Linked DNA regions of Homo sapiens: regions 1, 3 and 4 are each linked to region 2. Evidence: promoter capture Hi-C in 16 types of primary human blood cells and fetal thymus (Javierre and others, 2016). All regions are on one chromosome and are shown on one strand. The core of a region is centred on a gene start or on the middle of the fragment in contact, and the rest is flanking DNA. Distances in the headings are between cores, read along the strand shown.

What was found. The method cuts DNA at HindIII sites, captures the fragments that hold promoters and counts their contacts. A CHiCAGO score of 5 or more calls a contact.
Region 1: a contact is called between a fragment that was not itself captured here and the fragment with the promoter of ZMYM4 in region 2, in 1 of 17 cell types (monocytes). The highest score is 5.1, in monocytes.
Region 3: a fragment that was not itself captured here is called in contact with the fragment with the promoter of ZMYM4 in region 2 in 8 of 17 cell types (fetal thymus, non-activated CD4 T cells, naive B cells and 5 more); the score reaches 8.4 in fetal thymus.
Region 4: a fragment that was not itself captured here is called in contact with the fragment with the promoter of ZMYM4 in region 2 in 3 of 17 cell types (fetal thymus, naive CD8 T cells and naive B cells); the score reaches 7.9 in fetal thymus.

What each region holds. Positions count from the first base shown.
Region 1 is chr1:35,547,933-35,551,156 of GRCh38, reverse strand. The region is part of intron 2 of KIAA0319L (KIAA0319 like); the gene reads left to right. Among named protein-coding and RNA genes, the nearest start is that of KIAA0319L, 7.9 kb to the left of the region's middle. The HindIII fragment of the contact is 1,083 bases long and covers 1,360-2,442 here.
Region 2 is chr1:35,267,446-35,270,603 of GRCh38, reverse strand. It overlaps ZMYM4 (zinc finger MYM-type containing 4), which reads right to left and starts at 1,895. Exons shown (of 30, transcript NM_005095.3): 1 at 1,519-1,895. The coding sequence starts at 1,557. RefSeq lists silencers at 1,376-1,505, 1,576-1,935 and enhancers at 2,066-2,125, 2,146-2,205. The HindIII fragment of the contact is 2,104 bases long and covers 281-2,384 here.
Region 3 is chr1:34,980,540-34,983,473 of GRCh38, reverse strand. It overlaps TMEM35B (transmembrane protein 35B), which reads left to right. Exons shown (of 3, transcript NM_001195156.2): 3 at 1,355-2,094. The coding sequence ends at 1,530. Among named protein-coding and RNA genes, the nearest start is that of TMEM35B, 3.3 kb to the left of the region's middle. The HindIII fragment of the contact is 4,855 bases long and covers 1-2,934 here.
Region 4 is chr1:34,873,941-34,876,962 of GRCh38, reverse strand. All of the region lies in intron 8 of DLGAP3 (DLG associated protein 3), which reads left to right. Among named protein-coding and RNA genes, the nearest start is that of SMIM12, 16 kb to the right of the region's middle. The HindIII fragment of the contact is 868 bases long and covers 929-1,796 here.

The sequences.
Region 1 (3,224 bases), core at 652-3,151, 280 kb before region 2:
GGGGTGATGTGGTTGTCCTCATATAGTGCTGAGGAGTTTGAAAAGAGAACTTCTTGGCATAAATATCAAGAGCCCTAAAAAAATTCATATTTTTCGACTTAATTCTTCATTTAAGAATTTATCTGAAGGATACACTTAGATAGTTGTGAATGAGAGCACTGATCAACAGTCATTTATTCTGTGCTGCAAAATATTGCTGAAACCTGCTTAATTATAGGAGAGTGGTGAAATCTTTGCATCTCCACATGGTGGGATACTATCCAGTCTTAAAATTCATATTTTAAAAGAAAAGCTGGGTGTGGTGGCACACGTCTCTAGTCCCAGCTACTCGGGGGCTAAGATGGGAGGATTGCTTGAGCCTAGGGGTTTGAGACCAGCCGGCAACATAGTGAGGCCCTGTCTCTTTAGAATTAAAAAATGTTTAATAATTTAAAAAAAAAGTACACGGGAAAATGCTCCTAATATTAAATGATAAAATCAAGTTATGCAACTACATATTCAATATGCTGTCAATTTTGTGAAAAGAAGAAAAAATTATGTAATAGAAAACAGTCTGAAACAAGATGTACAACTAAATATTTATGTATTTTTTTGACTAGAGGAATTATTATCTCTTCATATTTTTCTGTGTTTTCCAGGCCTTTCTTTGGTATACTTGTATTCCTTTTTATATAAGGGGGAAAACAACCTACTTGAAAAAGCAACAACAAAATAATAACAGCAAAAACCTATTGGTGGGAGCCTGAGTCAGTATTTCTCTACTCATGAGTTTACTCAGTGTTTACCTGAGTGTTTACATTTTTTTCCGATAAAATACATTCTTGATTCCTGCTGTTATTTAGCTCATGGATTATTTCTGAAAAACTAACCAAATTAAGGCAGCTCTGCAGTTATCCTCCACTCCCGCTTACCACTTAGGAGTTTGCTCCATCTTTGGTAGAGCCCCAGGCAGCTGTTGACTTAGACATGGTGAGCTTTTTTATTTCCACTTTTGGGTTCAGTACTGAAGCCCTACTGTTAGAAAGCATTGATTACAATTTGATAAAAGATGGTCTGTCTGTGTTTTCCTTGTGTGCCATGGAATGGCTATTTTTCTGTTTAATTTTATTGTTAAGTGGCTTGAAAAATAGTGTTTTGGACCTGGGGATTCTCATCTGGAGACAAATAGGAAGTGATCCCAGGAGTTTTGGAAATTCCTACAATAGATTGTCAGCTTCTTGAGAGCAGACATGTTGCCTCTTTTAGTTATGCTAGATATTCTTAGCGGGTACCAAGGCACATAGTAGATGCATAAAATATTTGTTGACTGAATAAATTAATAAATTACCAATAAGGGAATTGTTCTTTGAGAATTAAGCTTTAAAAACAACAAAATCAGAGCAGAGATATGGAAAGGCACTTTAAGGAGACCAATGCTTTTGAGACCAACAAGATTGACTAAAATCTTAACAAATATATTAACACATACAAAGAAAGAATGTATACATCTGAAGAGTTATGTGTGCATGTTTGTGGGGGATGCAAGGACCTAATTGGCCCTAGAAATCTGAAACAGGGAGAATCACTGAAGCCAATGTCCTTAGGCCCAGAGCTAACAGTTGGCTATGAAAACTTGTACTGACATTTCCCTACCTCTGGGAAGGAGATTATACAGTTAGTTAATACGTATTTTGAGTACAGAGATAAATTATTCAATTCAGAACCATTTTTTGAGAACTTACTAGGAGTCTGCTTCTAGACTAGGCACCAGGATAATAAAGATTAGTACAATACAATCCTTTCTCTGGAATAACTACCAGTAGCAAGTGAAAAGGTAGAGGCCAGGTGCATTGGCTTATCCTAGCACTTTGAGAGGCTGAGGCAGGAGGATCACCCGAGGCCAGGAGTTCAAGACCAGCCTGGACAACATAGTGAAACCTCATCTCTACAAAAATAAAAAAAATTAGCTGGTGGTGGTGGGCACCTGTAGTCCTAGCTACTCGAAAGGCTGAGATGAGAGGATCACCTGAGCCCGGGAGTTCAAGACTGCAGTGAACTGTGATCATGTCGCTGTACTCCAGTGTGGGTGACAGAGGGAGACCCTGTCTCTTAAAAAAAAAAAAAAAAGATGCAACGCACAGAGTGCTACTGGAACCGTAGGAGAAGCATTTAGCTTGGAGGCAAAGAGGGTGCTCTAAGGAGTTCTTTCTAGAGAAGCATCTTCTAGAGAAGCTGATGCCTGAACAGAGTTGTGAAGGTTGAATTTGAAGGATTCAAAGGGTATTCCCATGCAATGGGAATGCAAGAGCAAAGGCACAAAAGTGAAACAGCCTGGTATATAGAAGAAACTCCACAAGCAGTTTAGCACTACTGGAATATAAAGAGCAAAGCTGGTATGGCAGCTCCAGAAGAGGTAGGTGGTGGCTAGGTCACAAAGGATCTTGTATGCTATGCTAAGAAGCTTCAATTTTAAACTTTTTAGGTAGATGGTCTATAAATTTTTTTCATGATGCACTTTAATCCATTGAAAAATTGAGAATGTACCCCTGTATATAAATTTATACATTATAACACGTAATTTTATACTAATGTCTTATATATGTGTAAGAGATGCCAAAAACAAAATGTTAAAGGGATTGACAGAAGCAAATATGAAGAGTTCTAATATTTTCTTTTCATGCCCGAGGGATTTGTCTTGTGCACCTCTTAAGGCAAACACTATAATACTTTAATGCTAGTATTAAATATAAAACTATTAATACTGTATTAAATATACTATAATACTGGTAAATTTCTGAATAATTTTTGCAGGAGTATAGAAAAGTGGTAATTGTGGAGATGGAGATGGATGGAAAAGGGAGGGAGGTCAGGGTTAGAGGTTAGGGTATCCATTAGCATGTTAATGAAATAGTCCAGGAGAAAGTTGATGAGACTCTGTCTTCAAGGAACCTCTCAGTAATTTCATTCAATACAAACAAGTAGAGGTAGTCCTAAAGAGATGGGTAGAATTTAGATGTTCTGTAGTAGAGAGATTAGAGGAAGTTTTTTTTTTTTTTCGAGACAGAGTCACACTCTGTTGCCCAGGCTGGACTGCAGTGGTACGATCTCAGCTCACTGCAACCTCAGCCTCCAGGGTTCAAGCAATTCTCCTACCCCAGCCTCCCGAGTAGCTGGGACTACAGGGGTGCACCACCACACCTGGCTAATTTTTGTATTTTTAGTAGAGATGGGGTTTTGCCATGTTG
Region 2 (3,158 bases), core at 646-3,145:
TATTTTTAGTAGAGACGGGGTTTCACCATGTTGGCCAGGCTGGTCTCGAACTCCTGGCCTCAAGTGATCCTGCCGCCTCGGCCTCCCAAAGTGCTGGGATTACAGGCGTGAGCCGCTGTGCATGTCCGGAATGCAATGTTAACAGTAGGATCTAGGCGGTTGGGTGTATGACTGCTCCCCGTAAGTTTTATAATATTGACGGATAGTTCAAAATATTTTCCTAATAAATTGTTGGAAAAAATAATACTTGACACTTCTTTGGTCATTTACAATTTAAGCTTTTAAGGAGAGAAACACAGATTAAAGAAACTCCTCTGTGGCATCCCACACAGGCACTATAGTTGGGACAAACCTGGATTCAAATCCTACCTCAACCTTGCAACTAGCTGTGTGATCTAAGTAAATTACTTAAGCCCTCAACACCTAAATTTCCTCATCTGCAAATAGGTTCTAGGAGGAGTTACTATGAAGTTAAATTCTTCACATAAAGGTCTTAGCTCAGTGCCAGGCACACAGTAAGCACTCAAAACATCAGCTGTAGCATCATTACGAGATTACTAATTTTACGCTAAGCTGAAAGGGCATTCTTCATAAAGTAGTAATTTTTTGCCCTTTTGCTAATTGATCGTTTCTGAAACCATTCCCAAAAGGAAGACTCCTAAAAGGAAACTTACTTCTTATCATGCTAAGCGGGGAGGAAGTAAAAGAAAAGTGAGGGATATTGCTCAATCGATAGTACAGTATTGTTCGCCATCTGAAAAAAACCACTCAGAATTAAATAAGGAAAGTTTCCAGACAAACTTTAAAAGGTATTCAAACAACTCCTATGTAGAATTGGCTTCACCTCTGCAGGTTGATTGGGTACATCCCTGTTATGAGAAAACTTGTCGTATTCTTCCAAGTCCCTAATTGCGAGTAAGAGGCTAGGCTAGAACATGACATTCATAGTAGCCAAAATCTTTCTCCTAAATCAGGACATGCCAACGATCCCACTTCTTCACAGGTAAGACCACCACCCCGACTTTGGTCTAGATAACGGCTATGGGGGGAGGGGAAAGGAGGCAGGAAAATGAATTCGCGATGGTGTTACTGAAGAACCCTCCGGTTATTTCTCCTGAGACCCCTCCACGACTTATTCCCGCCACCACCACCCCCACCTGACCTCTCCCCAGTTAACTTCCAGACTCTGATGTACTAAAGATGCACTAAAGATGCACTTAAGAATCTGACACCTCCCCTCCCTGGGCCTAGATATCCCACCCCAGTGCTGGGGAACGTCGGGGGGAGGAAGGCAAACAACGGCCCCCTCCCCTCCCCCCCACCCAGCACCAAATCTTTGTCCCACCTGCCGAGGGACCGCTCGCCAGCGCGCTCCGGACCCAAGGCTGCCTCAGACCTGCCCGCAACCTTGTCCTAACTGGGCCTCGGCGACCCCTCCACGAACCTGAGTATGGCCCATTCCCGGCCCCGGGCCGCGCCCCGCCCCCCGCCGCCCGAGTTCTGCCTCACCTCACCTACCCTCTTTCGGGGGCCGGACTCCACCTCTCTCTCCGCCATGTTGGGCCCCGCTCGGAACCGCTGCGGCTCCCCGCGCGGTGGCGGCGGTACCTCTCGGCCCCCCGGCCCCCGCCCACACTGCAGGCACGGCCGCCTCGCGGCAGCTTCCCCGGACCCGGCCGGGCCTTGCGCCGAGAGTGGGGAGGGGGCGGATGCCGCGCGCCGGGCCGCAGCTTCTGAGATCCCACGGGTCCGCGCGTGGGCGGGAGGGCCTGCCCGGGGACGGGGTGGGGGCCGGGACTCGGGGGGTTAATGGCCTCCAAGGGGCCCCGTGAGTAGGATTATTTTCTCTCAGAGAAATTCCTCCGCCTGCGGTTTCTTAAAGGGATCACCAAATCAGCCCCTTGCGCGCGCCCCTGATGCGCAGGCGCACCCTAAGTCCCTCCTTCCTTTCCCACCAAGCCCCCGGTCCTGAGCGTGCGCGGTAAGTGGCCATGGGTAGGCCAAATCCTGCAAGTCTCTTTGCTGCCAGCAGCTGCTCCCACCACTCAACTATGGCCGCTCCCTTAAAGGGACCATGACGCAGGGATGAAGGAGAAATGAAAGAAATTACTGGAAAGACAATCTGGAGAATTGGGTGCAATGTCAGTGAAGGGTTCCACATCACCATCTTACACCTGACTACAGTGGTACCATTGAAGAGGGAAAGTCATGGTAAGCTGAAGTTCTCAGTGGACCTCTGAACATGAAGAATCCCAAACCAATGAGGGAACAAGACAGTCATCTCAAGGAAAACCAACTTTCCTCCCTTTCGACTGCCTGTTCTGAAGCACAAGGCATAGAATATCAAGAGCCAACTCCTATAACCTCACCTTAAAATCAAAGCTTTTGGTGATTTTGAAGATTGAACCAACAACTGGAAATAATTTCTTCAATAGTAATTTATCCTTAGAACATCAAAATGGAGAAGGATCTTAGGGAACCATTTACTCCAGTGCTCCCAATGATAAAATTGCAGCCTGATCATGGGAAGGAATTTGTCCCAATGTAACTAATGGCTGGTGTGGAGTTGGAATCAAGATTACAGTCTCAGTCCTCCAGGCTGTCTTCAGGCGAGAGATAAATTTGGTTTAATTTGATATCCCTAGAAGATTAAAAATTGAAGTTTCATGGTATTTGGAGAATATCATAATTCTCTTGTGAAGATGTAATGATTTGCAGATGATGGGTGTCCTCATTCACCTCTATTGAAGGAGCTTGACAATCTGCCTTAAAGGATAAGCATCTTATTTCTAAGCAGGAAACCAGGAAGTAGATTTGGGTCTATCTTGTTCCAAAACTGGGTCCTAAGCTGAAAATCGCTGAAAAGAATGAGGGCTTCATTCATTCCTCTTCTGTTCATTCTAGTTCCCACAAGCTTTGGGTGCAGAAAAAATTAAGTTTATAATGATAGTTCAGGGACAGTGGGGAGACATATAGTAAGAAATACAAAGAAGATGCCTCCTGAAGGTCATTTCCCATGACAAGACATATTCAAGTGGGAATGATAACTCCTGAAGTCACAGGATAATGAGATGTAACTTCTGTTTTCTGTTTTATTTAGCACTTGGTAGCTATTCTGAAACAGATGTTTTCTAATCTGTAATATTTTGCTGAAAACT
Region 3 (2,934 bases), core at 49-2,548, 290 kb after region 2:
CCGAGTAGCTGGGACTACAGGCGCCTGCCACAGCGCCCGACTGATTTTTTTGTATTTTTAGTAGAGACAGGGTTTCACCATGTTAGCCAGGATGGTCTCGATCTCCTGAACTCGTGATCTGCCCGCCTTGGCCTCCCAAAGTGCTAGGATTACAGGCTTGAGCCACTATGCCCGGCCTAGCACAGGTACTTTTTAAACTTAATGTGCTAGAACATTATCACATGTTAAGTGTACCTTCTACCTCCTCAATTCTAATGGCTGCATAGTATTGCCTTGTGAAGATATATTGCAAGCTCAGCGCCTCTGCTCCTTCCTCCACACATCCACTCCTAGGATGAGGGGATGGAGGAGCAGCTGCCATTTGATGCATGTGTCTGGCAGATTGGTGTAGAGAGCAGGGAAGCTGGAGAACCTTGAACAGGAAGGCAGAGAATTTCCCTAGGGAGTCCCCCTCAAGTAGCTCTGCCCACAGGAACTGCTGATGTACAAAGACAGCTGTTGCTTCAAAGGCCAGATATCTTCAGGCTCTTCTATATGCCCTGGCATCTGTTACCATTGCTGCCACTGCTACCAGGCTTGCTTCCATCTCTGGAGCTTCTCCCATTTTCAGATCTTTCCCATACCTCCAACCAACAGCCCCTGGGCTAGTCCTTCCCTCCATCTTAATCTTAGTAGATGTAGGATTAAGAAAGGAGAAGGGGCCAGACACGGTGGCTCATGCCTGTAATCCCAGCACTTTGGGAGGCCGAGGCGGGCGGATCACAAGGTCAGGAGTTCAAGACCAGCCTGACCAACATGATGAAACCCCGTCTCTACTAAAAATACAAACATTAGCCGGGCGTGGTGGTGCGCGCCTGTAATCCCAGCTACTCAGGAGGCTGAGGCAGGAGAATCGCTTGAAGCCAGTACCCAGAACCCAGTAGCCCAGCTACTCAGAAGGCTGGCAGGAGATCACGCCATTGCACTCCAGCCTGGGTGACAGAGCAAGCCTCTGCCTCAAAAAAAAAAAAAAAAAAGGAAAGGAGAAGGATCAGGGAGATTTTTTTTTCTAAAATCTATCCACTCTAGCCACTGCCCTATTTGGCTGGGTCATTCCCGTTTCTTTCTTGTCCTCTGAGAGGGGCAACTGTTGCCACTGCTGCTGTTGTTCAAGAGGCTTCTAATTTCCTGGTCCTGCTTTCTCCAGGAGGCTAGAGATGAATGCCGCTAGTTTTGGGAATGTGCGTTAGGAGTGGTGGGGGTGTTTAATGGGAGGGCTTGGGCTGGAGTGGGTCAGCCTAAACTAGAGAGCCCTGAGCTCCTGGATCTCCTGGGTTCTTCCAAGGAGCCTCAGGGACCTCACTTTCCATTCCAGGGGCTATCTTCACCTTGGCAGCTCTGAAAGAGTCACTAAGCACCTGTATCCCAGCCATTGTCTGCCTGGGGTTCCTGCTGCTGCTGAATGTCGGCCAGCTCTTAGCCCAGACTAAGAAGGTGGTCAGACCCACTAGGAAGAAGACTCTAAGTACATTCAAGGAATCCTGGAAGTAGAGCATCTCTGTCTCTTTATGCCATGCAGCTGTCACAGCAGGAACATGGTAGAACACAGAGTCTATCATCTTGTTACCAGTATAATATCCAGGGTCAGCCAGTGTTGAAAGAGACATTTTGTCTACCTGGCACTGCTTTCTCTTTTTAGCTTTACTACTCTTTTGTGAGGAGTACATGTTATGCATATTAACATTCCTCATGTCATATGAAAATACAAAATAAGCAGAAAAGAAATTTAAATCAACCAAAATTCTGATGCCCCAAATAACCACTTTTAATGCCTTGGTGTAAGTATACCTCTGAACTTTTTTCTGTGCCTTTAAACAGATATATATTTTTTTTAAATGAAAATAAAACCATATATCCTATTTTATTTCCTCCTTTTAAAACCTTATAAACTATAACACTGTTTCATGTCTCTTTTGCCTCATTGCTGTTAATGGCTGCATAGTATTCCATTGCAAGGATGTACTATAATGTATTTAATCCCCCATGAGGAACATTTGGGTTATTCTCAATTTTTTGCTCTCGTAAGCCTCACAGTAAATCACTTTTGCATACTTATTTTCTTCCCCTAGAAGTGAGGGTGCTGGTTCAAAACACATGCATGTTTTTAAGGTTTTTAATACATATTTAAAACGTACAGGTTCTGTATGCAGAGCTTAAGTACTTGCTTCTGCCTATGCCCTTTGAGACATATTAGAGATTCCCTCCCACTCCTTTTTTTCTCTGACATATTAGATGTGCAGAGCTAACAGGTAGGCATTGAGTCATTTGACAGGACCTGAAATCAAGCTCTGGTGGTGATCTGTGGCACCCAGTCCAGTGCTCCTTGACACCTACGTGGAGATGAGGGACAGCCAACTCCATGAAATGCTGAATGGTACAGCAGGGCCCAAAGCCTGGGAGGAATCCCAGAGGTCCTTGGGGGTAGGAAGGGTGCATATGTGTGACAGTTCTCAGGGGAAAAGTGGACAACACGTTAGGGCACCTGCTATTATGTCACCACCATCTTTATCTTAGGTTGGCAGGGCTGTGGGCTTTTGGGAAGTGATGTACCTCCCATGAGGGACTATAGTGAGAAACAGTTCACTTATTTATGCAAATATTCTAGCTATCAGCCTACAGATTGCTTTGAGGGTGGAAAAGAAGTCTCTATTACTCCATTTCATGTTCACTACAAAATGCTAATTCCCATTCTGACTAGTGTGAACCTCAGGCAAGGTGACACTCTCAGTTGGATTTTTTTCTTCTGAGTCTGAAAGCATAGTGGTGTAGTCTGCCTATAGTAAGGATAGATAGATTACACTAAATAAATGGTAGTGTCAAAACAATAAGGAAACCTTTTCTCTCATGTAAGAGGTCCAGAGATAACCACTTCAGTTTCAATGTTGGTCAGTTTGC
Region 4 (3,022 bases), core at 113-2,612, 390 kb after region 2:
GGAGCTTCCTAAGTTAATTCAGTCTACTCTATTGATCAGTGGTCTGGGTAAGGCTGATAGCAGTGGATACAGAGAGAAGTGGGCCAATTTGAGCAGCATTTTGGAGTGAAAGTCAGGGAAGGGCAGGGACAGGCAGAGAACGTGGCCTTCCTTGCTCTTGTGTAAGTGCTTGGTGAGGTCTTGATGTGGCGGGCTGAGGAGAGGACATGGTGTTGAATAAGCATCGAAAGAACCAAACTGCCTGGGACAGGTGATCACACTGGGAATTCAGAGGGAGTGACAGGTGGGGAGAGGGGAAATCTGGCCCATCTCTTTGGCCAGGCTCCCTGGCCTGTCTGCTGCAGGCGTCCTTAGTCATACACCTGCACAGTCCTTTCTGTCCCTTATGTCCCTGGCACTTTAAGTCTGACTCCTCACACACCATGCCCCAACTGGTGCATAAAAGCGAGCCATGAATTCCAGCAGCCTCGCCTGGCCAGCATTCAGGCCTGGCCCGCCACACACAGCCCAGCCCCATTTTCTTTGACTCTCTTGTCCTTACTGCTGTCTCGCTCATCCCAGTATCTGTTTCTCTCTCTGTAATTTGGTTTTAAAAATTGCTGAGCAGGAAAGGTCTCTTCTCTTCTGCCTTTCAGGGTGTTCCCTGCTCACCTCTTGGGTGAGGATTTTGGACTTATTGTCCCTTCTGTCTGGGAATTGTCTGTGAGTCCTTCCAGTTGCCCAGTGTCAGTGATGACTTGGCTTAGAATATAAGGGGAGGGGGCTGGCACCCCTTCAGTTCTATCTCCACTGCACACCCCCACCCCCCCGCCAAGATTCATCTGTCCACAGATATTTATTGGATCTGTATTATTTGCCAAACACTGTGCTGGGCACTGAGGATGCAAAGGTGAGCAGAACCAGAGACAGCTCCTGCCCATGCAAAGCTTACCACGAAGTTAATCTAAGAATCTCATTAATGATGTAGCCGCTGTGCCGGCTGCCACAAAGGAGCGGCATGTGAGCCATGACAGTGTAGACTATGGGGCTTTGAGTCTGCCAGAGGGGTCAGGCATGGCTTCCCTGGGAAGTGACATTTGGGTGGAGATCCGAAGGATGAACAAAAATTAACTGAGTGAAAAATGGGAGATAAGGTTCCAGGCAGAAGGAATAGCATATGCTAAGGCCTTGTGGTGAGAGAGAACATACTTAATCAGTTACCAGCCGTGTCTCAACATGTCCTTATGGCACCTGTTTCCCTAGACCCAGCACACTCTGGGCCATGATAAAAGGATGCATCAGATGTCTTGCTGAATATTAGCAAGGGGCCCTCTGAAGTCATAGAAAATGGGATTTTTGCCTCCAACTCTTTCTAACCATAGGGATCTGCCTGTATCTTCCACCTCTAATTCCTCCCAGACAGACCTTATCTTAAATTGTAAATTTAGCAAAAACAAAACCAACAACATCAACAGCAAAACCCACCAAAATAAAGAAACAAAAACCACCAGGATGCCCAGTTAAATTTGATGATCAGATAAATAATGAATGCATTTTAGTATGTCACATGCAATATTTGGGACATACTCATAGTAAAAACATCTGTTATTTATCTGAAATTCAAATTCAACTGGGAGTCCTATATTTTATCTGACAACCCTACTCATACCTGCTTGTGCCCACGAAGGGCCACCTGGAGAACTCTGTGGAGGAAGACCTGCCTACCCTTTCCTTAACATTATGGTCATTTCTAGCTTTGGGAGTTTGGGAAGGGTATGTGCTGAAAGAATGGCCCCTTGAGGCCTGGGAAAGAAGCTTCCATACCCATTAAGTTATATTCCAAGAACAGTCCTGCAAAAGCAATAAGAAGCTGACTGCCCAAAGCCCTGGGCACAGATGCTACCTCCATTCCTGAGCCTGCAAATTTAGGACGGTTTCTGACTGACCCTCATGACTCCTCCTGAATCTCCCACCCTAGCCCCACCTTGGCATCCCTGTCACAGCCCCCAGGCTGGAGTGGTGGGTTCAGTGACCCCTGCTTGATTATATGTTTAGGCTCTTAGATGCCTTCACACAGGAGCTTCTATAGAAGCTAGTTTGAAGGCTATGCCTAGTTGAAATGACACCGTCCTTCCCCCTCCCTGCCCACTCCCCCTCCCACCCTTCCTGCCTGCTGCCAAATACTCCTGGCAAAACCTCTTGACAACTTCTGGATATAGAGCTTTCCTTGGATACTGTGTCTCTTGGGATAATCCAGCTTCTACCCAGAGGCTTTTATGTTATCCCCCAGAGAATCACAGTAGAAACTCTCCCTGAAGTAGAATCGCAGTGGAAACTCTCCCTGAAGTAACCATGATAACAACTTGCATTATCATCAGGAATGTAATCATTGTCACCTTGGAGCACTCAAAGGGAGGAGGCTTCTGCAGCCACATTTAAAGGCTTGGGAGAAAATATTGTGAATGCATTGTTACGCATTAATGACAATTCACAGCTGAAGCCAGTTTTTATCCTGTGCTGACAGCTGTTGGTGGAGACCACAGCAAATACTGCCAAATCCAAAACTAAATAGCGACATAAGCCCTTAACTTCACTATTCTAAAAATTCATCTGTTATAGTTAGGAGTGGGTTTGACTGTGAGTTATAGAAAACCCCCCAAACAACAGTGATTTAAATATGATAGAAGTTTATTTCTCTCTTACTTAGAGGAAATCCAGGGAGAGTTAGTTGAGGTCTGGTAGATGCCCCACAGTGTCAGGACCTGGAGCCTTCTATCTTTTCCTCATCCCCCACCCCACTTAGCACTTCCCTTTGGTCTCATGTTCCAGAATGGCTGCTTGAGGTCCAGCCATCATGTCTGCATTCTGGTGATCGGGAAGGAGGAAGAGACAAGGAAGGGCATACCCCCTCCTTTTAAGGACACTTTCTGGAAGTTGCACATGCCACTTCTACTTTTATCTCATGGGCTAGAACTTAGGCACATGGCTACATTTAGTTGGTAGGGAGATTGGGAAAGAATCTTTATTCAAAGTAGCCATGTGT